Linked DNA regions of Homo sapiens: region 2 is linked to region 1. Evidence: promoter capture Hi-C in human tissues and cell types (Jung and others, 2019). All regions are on one chromosome and are shown on one strand. The core of a region is centred on a gene start or on the middle of the fragment in contact, and the rest is flanking DNA. Distances in the headings are between cores, read along the strand shown.

The links. Contacts are between HindIII fragments. The study calls those that stand out against the background at their distance.
Region 2: a fragment that was not itself captured here is called in contact with the fragment with the promoter of PPP1R3G in region 1 in 1 of the 25 tissues and cell types used here (mesenchymal stem cells).

The regions. Positions count from the first base shown.
Region 1 is chr6:5,082,634-5,086,668 of GRCh38, reverse strand. PPP1R3G (protein phosphatase 1 regulatory subunit 3G) reads right to left here and starts at 1,328. Exons shown (of 1, transcript NM_001145115.3): 1 at 1-1,328. The coding sequence starts at 1,183. The coding sequence ends at 107. All of the region lies in intron 3 of LYRM4-AS1 (LYRM4 antisense RNA 1), which reads right to left. It also overlaps a transcript of LYRM4 not described here. RefSeq lists silencers at 577-806, 837-886, 1,027-1,126, 1,377-1,556, 1,967-2,246 and 1 more and an enhancer at 357-1,046. The HindIII fragment of the contact is 9,723 bases long and covers 1-4,035 here.
Region 2 is chr6:4,303,848-4,307,826 of GRCh38, reverse strand. No RefSeq gene overlaps it. Among named protein-coding and RNA genes, the nearest start is that of ECI2-DT, 170 kb to the right of the region's middle. The HindIII fragment of the contact is 7,086 bases long and covers 1-3,979 here.

The DNA.
Region 1 (4,035 bases), core at 79-2,578:
AGACTCGCCACGCTCAGCAAAGCGTCCCAGCAAGTTCCTTGAGGCGGCAGCCCGAGCTCCACGTGCTAATCAACCCCGCCCCACGGCTCTTCGAAACTCTCCAGGCTCAGAGCGCGTCCGCAGGGCGCGCGTAGCGCAGCGTGTAGTTGGCGCCCGCGTTGTTGTCCCAGTACTCGCCCTGCGCGCAGCGGTAGCAGACAGCGAAGTGGACCGCGACGCCGCGCTCGTCGGCGTCCTCTTCGTCCTCAGGCTGCAGGCCCGGGGGCAGGCACAGCGAGAAGTGGAAGCACTCGGCGCCTGGCTCTTTCTTGGCATCCCCGGACCCTGGCTCGGAGGCCCCAGACGGTGCCTCTGGCTGCTGTGGCTCCAGCGGCTCGGGCTGCAGCTCAGCCGGCACGTCCAGGAAGGAGCGCCACTCGGTAAAGGTGTAGCGCACGGTCACGGCCCTGGGCCCAGGGCAGCTGAGCACCCGGCCGGAGCCCTTCACCTCAGCGCCCGAGGCCGTCGAGCACTGCACGCGCTCCAGGCACACGCGCTGCCGCTGCAGACGCTCGGCCGCGGCGCTCGGCCCCGGGAGCTGGAAGAGCGGCCGGAGCCGGGAAGGCGGCGCTGAAAGGGGCGCGGCCACTGCCGCCGCGGCCAGCAGCCCCCCGAGCTGCTCCAGGTCCTCGGCACGCATAGGGAAGCTTCGGAGGCGCGAGAGCACGGCGGGCGGCACCTGCGGCTCCTCCGCCTCGCTGAAGTGCTTCACGCTGGCCAGGCTTAGCCCCAGCGTGTCCGCGAACTGCACCCGCTTCTTGCACTTGGCGCAGCAGCCGCCCGGGCCGAGCTGTGCGTCCTCCGCCCCCTCGCCGCCCAGTGCCACCGCCTGTTGCTGCTGCTGCTGCAGGAACTTGGCCGCCTGCAAGATGGGGTCGGCGGGCAAGGAAAAGGAGCGCGCGCGGCAGCGGCGGCGGCATTCCAGCAGCTCCTCCTGCTCCTGGGGGGCGGCCTCTTCCTTCGGGGACAGGGGCCTATCCCCTAGCTGAGCGTCAGGACTCGGGGTCTCCGAAGCGCCACCGCCGTCGCCGCCACCCTGCACACAGGGGACCACCGGGGCGGGCAGCTCCTCGGCCGGCGGGGCCTCTCGGAAGGGCGCTGGTCCCGGCGCCTCCAAACTTAGCCGCGCCCCTATGGGCTCCATGACGCCGTTCGCCCCTGGACTTGCTCGGGCCGAACCGGGCCCCTCTGGAGACTTAACTAACTCCTCGGGCCGTGGAAGGAGCGCAGGGCTGCAGTTCAGGCTCGCCCTCCCCGAGGCGAGTCGCCCCAGGCTCGACAAGACAACGTAGTTCCACTTTGGAGCCTCCGGCTTTTAGCTGCGGCTGCCCAGGGCGAAGTGGGAGGAGGATGCGGGCCTGGGGCCGGCTCCGGGGCCACGCCGCCTCCCGGTTGAACCTGCCCGCGACGGGGGAGGGCCGGGGGCGGGGAGGCGCGGCCGCTGGGACACCTGGAAGCCGTGTTCCCGAGTGCTCCGGTGGAATGCGGGGGGCGACTTTCTGTCGTTCGCGGGCTCCCTGCAGCCCTCACCCGCACCCCCGGCGGGGCTCGCGTCTGTTCCGCTTCTTGAGTGCCTCGAAGTGGGGGTGCAGAGCTCGCGCTCAACCTTCAGAGACCCCCACGTGCACAAAGTCTTCCTGCCCATGAACTTGGCCTGACGGCTCTGCCCCCAGAGGGTCACTGAGCGCTCTCCTCTTGGCTGCCTCACGGGCTGGGGAGTCCCCGGTGCAGCGCGCAACTGGGGAAATCTTGCCTACGCAGAGGCTGGAAGGAGGCCCATTCCGCGCCGCCGGAGAGCGGGGAGCGCATCCCTTCCCTTCTGCTCCTGCTTTCCCCAAACTTCAGGGCGCCCCGGGTTCCAATCCCACTCGGAAGCCTGACTCGGTCAGGCGCGCTCCGCTCTGCTCTTCCGAAAGCCGGGAGGCAGGAGCCGCCGCCCCCATCTGCCCAGTGGCGGCGCGGGGTGGGCTGCGGCCAGACTGGGGCGGGGACCGTGTGGGGACGCGCCGGGGAGCGGCCATGGCCCGCAGCCGAGAGCGGCCGGAGGCCATTCGCGCCAGGCCCGGGAGCACGTCCCGCCCCTCCCCCTGTCCCGCCCGACGCGCCCGCGAGTCCGCGCCCCGGGATCCCGCAGGGAGGGCGGAGAGGGGGCCCCGTGGGGCCGGCGCCCACGCGGCACGCACCACCTCCCACCGCAACCGGACGCCAGCGCCCCAAGCACCCTCCCCGCCCACCGGGAGTGGGGGCGTGGCCCGCGCCGGACTGCGCTGTCACCGCCCTGCTGCTCCGGCCTTGCCAGGGGCCAAGGCCCGAACCTGAGGCCGGGGAGGGGTGGGGAAGCGCGTCGTGGTACCTAGGGATTGGGGGAACGTCTAAAAGTGGTGTTTTTCTTGTTTTGGTTTTAAGGCCACCCTGAGGGCCATCTAAGTCAGTGATTCTACTTCAGCATGCACGGACATCACTCGGGGGCCCGTTGTCACATCACAGGGCCCCACTCCCAGAGTTTCCTTCTTTCTAACTTTTTCGAGATAGGGGTCTTGCTATGCTGCCCAGGTTGGTCTCAAATTCCCGGCCTCAAGCAGTCCTCCCGCCTCAGCCTCTAAGGTAGCTGGGATTACAGGCGCCCCCCACTGCTCCCAGCTCCCTAGCGTTTGTGACTCAGTGGGCTTGGGCTGGGGCCTGGAAGTATTTCTAACAAGGGGATGCTGATGCTGGGCTCTGGGGACCGTATTTAAACCTATGTGGATGTGTATTCAGTTACTTATATAGAAAGTTGGGGATTCTAGAAACAGAACCACTAATTAAGAAACGTAATTAATTGGGGCTTCATAACTAAAACATGTCATGGTTTGGCAGAACTGAAAGGGGCCAGGGTTTTAGCCATGTTGGCAGAGGGCAGGCAAAAGAGATGGTGGGTGAGGAGCGTGTTAAGAGCTTACATTGATTGACTGAGCACCTACAGGATGTCCTGTCCATGAAATAGGAATCACATCATTCCTGCCTACATATAGGACACAACACTGCAGAAAGATTTCTCATCGCCAAGGCCCCACAGGGTGGCTTTCATGGGATTTGAAGCCAGGCAGCTTAGAGGAAACATTTCCCCCATCACTACTAAGCCTGGGCTGGGAGTGATGTCCTGTAAAGGGGGCCCTGCCGGTCCCCTTGCTGGACTCTTGCTGGTCATTTTATGCCCAGTGTGGAATTCCATGACTGTGTCTTGACTTGGGCATGGCATCTCCAAGAGGCCCCAGGCGCACACGGCCTGTCTTCCTGCAGCAACTCTGATTTCGGGAAGGACATTGCTTTTACATTTAAATACACATTGCTACATTATGGAGTTAAATACAAAATTCACAAGCTATTTTAAAGATAAAATAAGACTTCAAAGAGATTTTGAGGTGGTGGCGACCCTTTGGGCTACAACCCTCACGGGGGCACATGCTCACTCCAGGACAGAGAAGGAGGTGAGGGAGGTGCTGGGGCATAGAATTTAAGGAGGCATCACTCTCAGGGTCATGCAGGTGCACTGGTCCCAGCCCCGGCCCACCCTCCTCTGTGCGGTGGAAATGCTAGAGGTCCCACCCCCGGGGAGCTCTCAGTGCGTGGGAGGGGCCAACACTATACAAACTCAGCCCCTGTGGCCAATGCTGAGAAGGTGGTATCTGACCTGGTCAGGAGGCCTGTGAGGAAGGTGAGGTGGAAGGAACAGCTCGGACTGCAAGGAAGAACGTGCTGGGCCACGCAGAGGCTCTGTTGGAGGGAGTGTCAGGGGGCTGGACTGGAAGAAGGCCAGGGTGGCCTGAGGGCAGAGAGCACAGAGGAACTGGCGGAGCTGAGGATGGGAGGGGACAGCCACTCAACCTTGAGCAATGAGAGGCCGTCAAAAGGTTTTGAGTCATGAATGTGACTAACCAGATTTAAATTTTGAAAAGATCATTCTGGATACAGGACAAAGAGCAAATTACTGGGGACAGAAACAATGTGAGTGAGCCC
Region 2 (3,979 bases), core at 891-3,390, 780 kb after region 1:
TCCTTTCTTTGCCCCTGCTGGGATGTGATATACACCTAAACCCATGGCTGCATCTGTCTATCTTGCCACCAGCACCAGACAAAGGTCCCTTTGCCTTCACAGCCCCATCATCCTACCTCTTACTTTTTTCAAGTCTACTCTTATCGACTGACAACTCATTGTAGATTGATTTGCATTTCTCTGATTAGTAACAGTTTTAAACATGTTTTACACTTGCTAGCCTCTTGGGATTCCTGTTGTGTAAATTGCCTGTTCATGTCCTTTGTCTGTTTTTCCTTTTTGCGATTGTCATTTTCTACTTGTTGACTCAAAGGCACTAGTGATTCCAGACACTGGTTCCTCATTTTAGAAATTGCAAATATCTTCTCTCCTGCTGTCATCTTCTTTGATCATGATGTCCTTCTTTAAACAGAAATTCTGTCCGCACACTTAGTCACCAATGAAGCAATGTCTTTAGGCCCTGTCCTTGCTACTGAGACTGGACAGATTGAGTTATTTGACCCAGGCATACCTCTTCCTATACAGTATATTACAGTTACTTCTAGCGCTCATTCATTTGATCTCTTTTCTGTATTTTTTACTTTCCTTCCTCAATTCTTTATTCAATAAAATATTTTTGAGCACATATTATGTACAATCAGTATACTAGTCATTGGGATATAAGAGTATACAAATAGGCATAGTCACTATGTTGGAGGGATGGAAAAAGAGAGATCAAATAATAAATAAAGAGAAAAATACCTTTATGCTCCAAAACTTGTGAAGCAACCAAGATGTCCTTCAGTAGGTGAATGGACAAATAAACTCTGGTACATCGAGACAATGGAATATTATTCAGCACTACAAAGTAATGGCTCATCAAGCTGTGAAGACATTGAGGAAACTTAAATGTATACTGCTAAGTGAATGAAGCCAATCTGAAAAGGCTGCATAACTGATGAATTCAACTTCATGACACTCAAAAAGGCAAAACTATAGAGACAGTAAAAAGATAAGTGGTTGCCAAGGGTTGGAGGAAGAAGGGATGCACAGGTAGAGCACAGAGGGCTTTTAGGGCAGTGAAAACACTCTGTATGATACTAAAATGGTGGATACTTGTCATCATATATTTATCCAAACCCACAGAATGAACACCAAGAATGAACCCTAAGATAAGCTATAAACTTTGTGTGATGAGGGTATGCCAATGTAGGGTCATCAATGGTAACAAATGTGCCACTCTGGTGGAGGATGTTGATATGGAGGAGGCTGTGCATGTGTCAGGGAAGGGGCATATGGGAAATCTCTGTGTCTTCCTCTTAATTTTGCTGTGAACCCAAAACTGATCTAAAACATACAGTAAATTATATGTAACATATATATAATTGTATATGTATACAATTCATCAGTTGATGATAAGTGTTATGAAAACAAATGATACATGGAAGGCAATAACGAGTGATGGGAATGCTTTTTGAGCTGGTCCAGAAGGTCTCTCTAAAGAAGTGCATTTGAGCAGAGCTAAAGGAAGCCAGTGAGTGAGCTATGATGAGAATATCAAGGGAAGAGCCTTCAGGCAGAAGGAACAGCACGTGCAAAGACACAGAGGCAAGAGCAAGCCTTGTGCGTGTTGCAGGAACAGCAAGTAGGTCTGTGCAGCTGGGGGCAAGCACATGAGAAAAAGAGTAGCAGAAAATAAACTGGAGGAGTAGGTGGGAGCCAGGTCACGCAGGAGTGAAAATGCAGGCATTAGTGAGGACTCTAGATTTCATTCTTCTCCTGATTGGCACAGACATTCTTTCTTAAGTTAACACCTTAAGCTCAATCTTTACTTTCTTTTTTAAAAAACTTTTATTTTAGGTTTAGGGCTACATGTGCAGGTTTGCTGCATAGGAAACTTGTGTCATGGGGGTTTGTTGTACAGATTATTTTATCACCCAGGTATTAAGCCTAGTACCCAATAGTTATCGTTTCTGTTCCTCTCCCTCCTCCTAAAATAGACCCCATGTCTACTGTTCCCTTCTTTGTGTTCATGAGTTCTCATCATTTAGCTCCCATTTATAAGTGAGAACATGTGGTATTTGATTTTCTGCTCCTGAATTAGTTTGCTAAGGATGATGGCCTCCAGATCCATCCATGTTCCTGAAAAATACATGATCTTGTTCTTTTTATGGCTGCATAGTTGTCCATGGTTTATATTACCACATTTTCTTTATCCATTCCATCACTGATAGGCATTTAGGTTGATACCCTGTCTTTGTTATTGTAAATGGTGTTGCAATGAACATTCATGTGCATGTATCTTATAGTAGAGTGATTTATATTCCTCTGGAAAAAAAAGCTCAATATCGCTGATCATTAGAGAAATGCAAATCAAAACTACAGTGAGATACCATCTTACACCAGTCAGAATGGCTACTATTAAAAAGTGGAAAACAAACAAACAACAGACACTGGCAAGGTTGCAGAGAAAAGGGAACACTTACACACTGTTGGCAGAAGTGTAAATTAGTGCAACCATTATGGAAAGCAGTGTTACAATTCCTCAAAGAGCTAAAAGCAGAACTAACATTCAACCCAGCAATCTTTTCTTTCAGGATGATTGTGTTTCAGCTCTGATTCATTACATACCTATTTTATGGTTTAAAATGAGAGACAGTCTTAATTTATCATCCTTCCAGATCATCCCCTCCCCATCAACCATCAGTTAAGTGATGCTGGGAAGCTTAAAAAGATAAAAATATGTGCAAGTGATATATTAGCCCCTGTATAAATATAGAGCATGATCATCATTGGAATTGCACACATTGACACCAAGAAGTCAGGAAGATTTTTATTTTTAATTAGCAGAGATAAATCACTTGTAGTCAACTGAGAGTTCAATAGCTCTTTTCAGTAAGAGTGGAGAAATTAATCCTTTGAAATCTGTGATCATTTTTTTATAAAAATAAAAAAATAAAGATTTTCTTAGCCCTAGCACTGCCATTTCCTGAGTAATTTAGTGCAATATGCTATTGGTTCAAAAGCGTTTTCAATTAAGAAAGACAAAACTTCCTATCACAAATTAATCAAAATTCACCTTAAGTGACTTGAATTAGCAACAGGAAAAGAATCTTCATCAACTTGAAAATTAAACTAAGCAACATTTGATTTATTATTTGGAAGTGCAAGTCAAAGGAAAATTTAATCGAAATTTTTAAATAAACAGCATGTGGTTTAAATTTCCTATTGCAAAATTCAATAACAAGTATGGAATTAGAGTATATATCGGGGATCAGTGTTCAGAAAACATTTCCAAAAACATCCTGCAGTCCCCCCACCTCATGTGAGGCAGACAGGCAGACAAGTCATGACTTGGGCCAAAGGGAGACATGATTTGCTATTTCCCCCATGAAGGCTATCTTTCAGTAGCTGGCACCCAACTCTGTAGGTGGAGCATCTTTTCATTTAGTTCATCTAGTTCTCTCCTACTGGTCTTCCAATCTCAGCTCACTGTCATCTCCTCAGAAAGACTCCTTCTGACCTCTCAGACCACAGTGCCAGAGTCCCTCTGTTTGTGGGGCTTGATGCAAGTGGCATTTGCAAGGCAGAGTTCATGTCATCTGCTCACACTGATCTCTAGTTCATGGCGCCAAGTAGATGCTCAATGAATATTTGTCAAATGAATGAAGGATGTGAGGAATTTGTGAAATCACCATGAGGGCAATTGCTGTTGAAGTACTTGAACTAGCAGATGGATGCAAAGATCCAAAAATGTACCATCTGGGAATTCTAGCTTTATTGTGATTAAAGATGAGATCCTCATTTTTTTTTCCTGGTGACCACATGCTTTTGATTTTCCTCAAGTTTTTGGAGTCAGGGTTTGATGCTATCTGTGACAGGTAAAAGCTGCCTTGGGATGGCTCCTCCCTTTCTGATAAAAATCCCCAGAAGCCAAAAAGAGGGGGCTCCCGATGACATGGCATGTGGACATCAACCAGGCCAAGCTTTGAGGTCAACT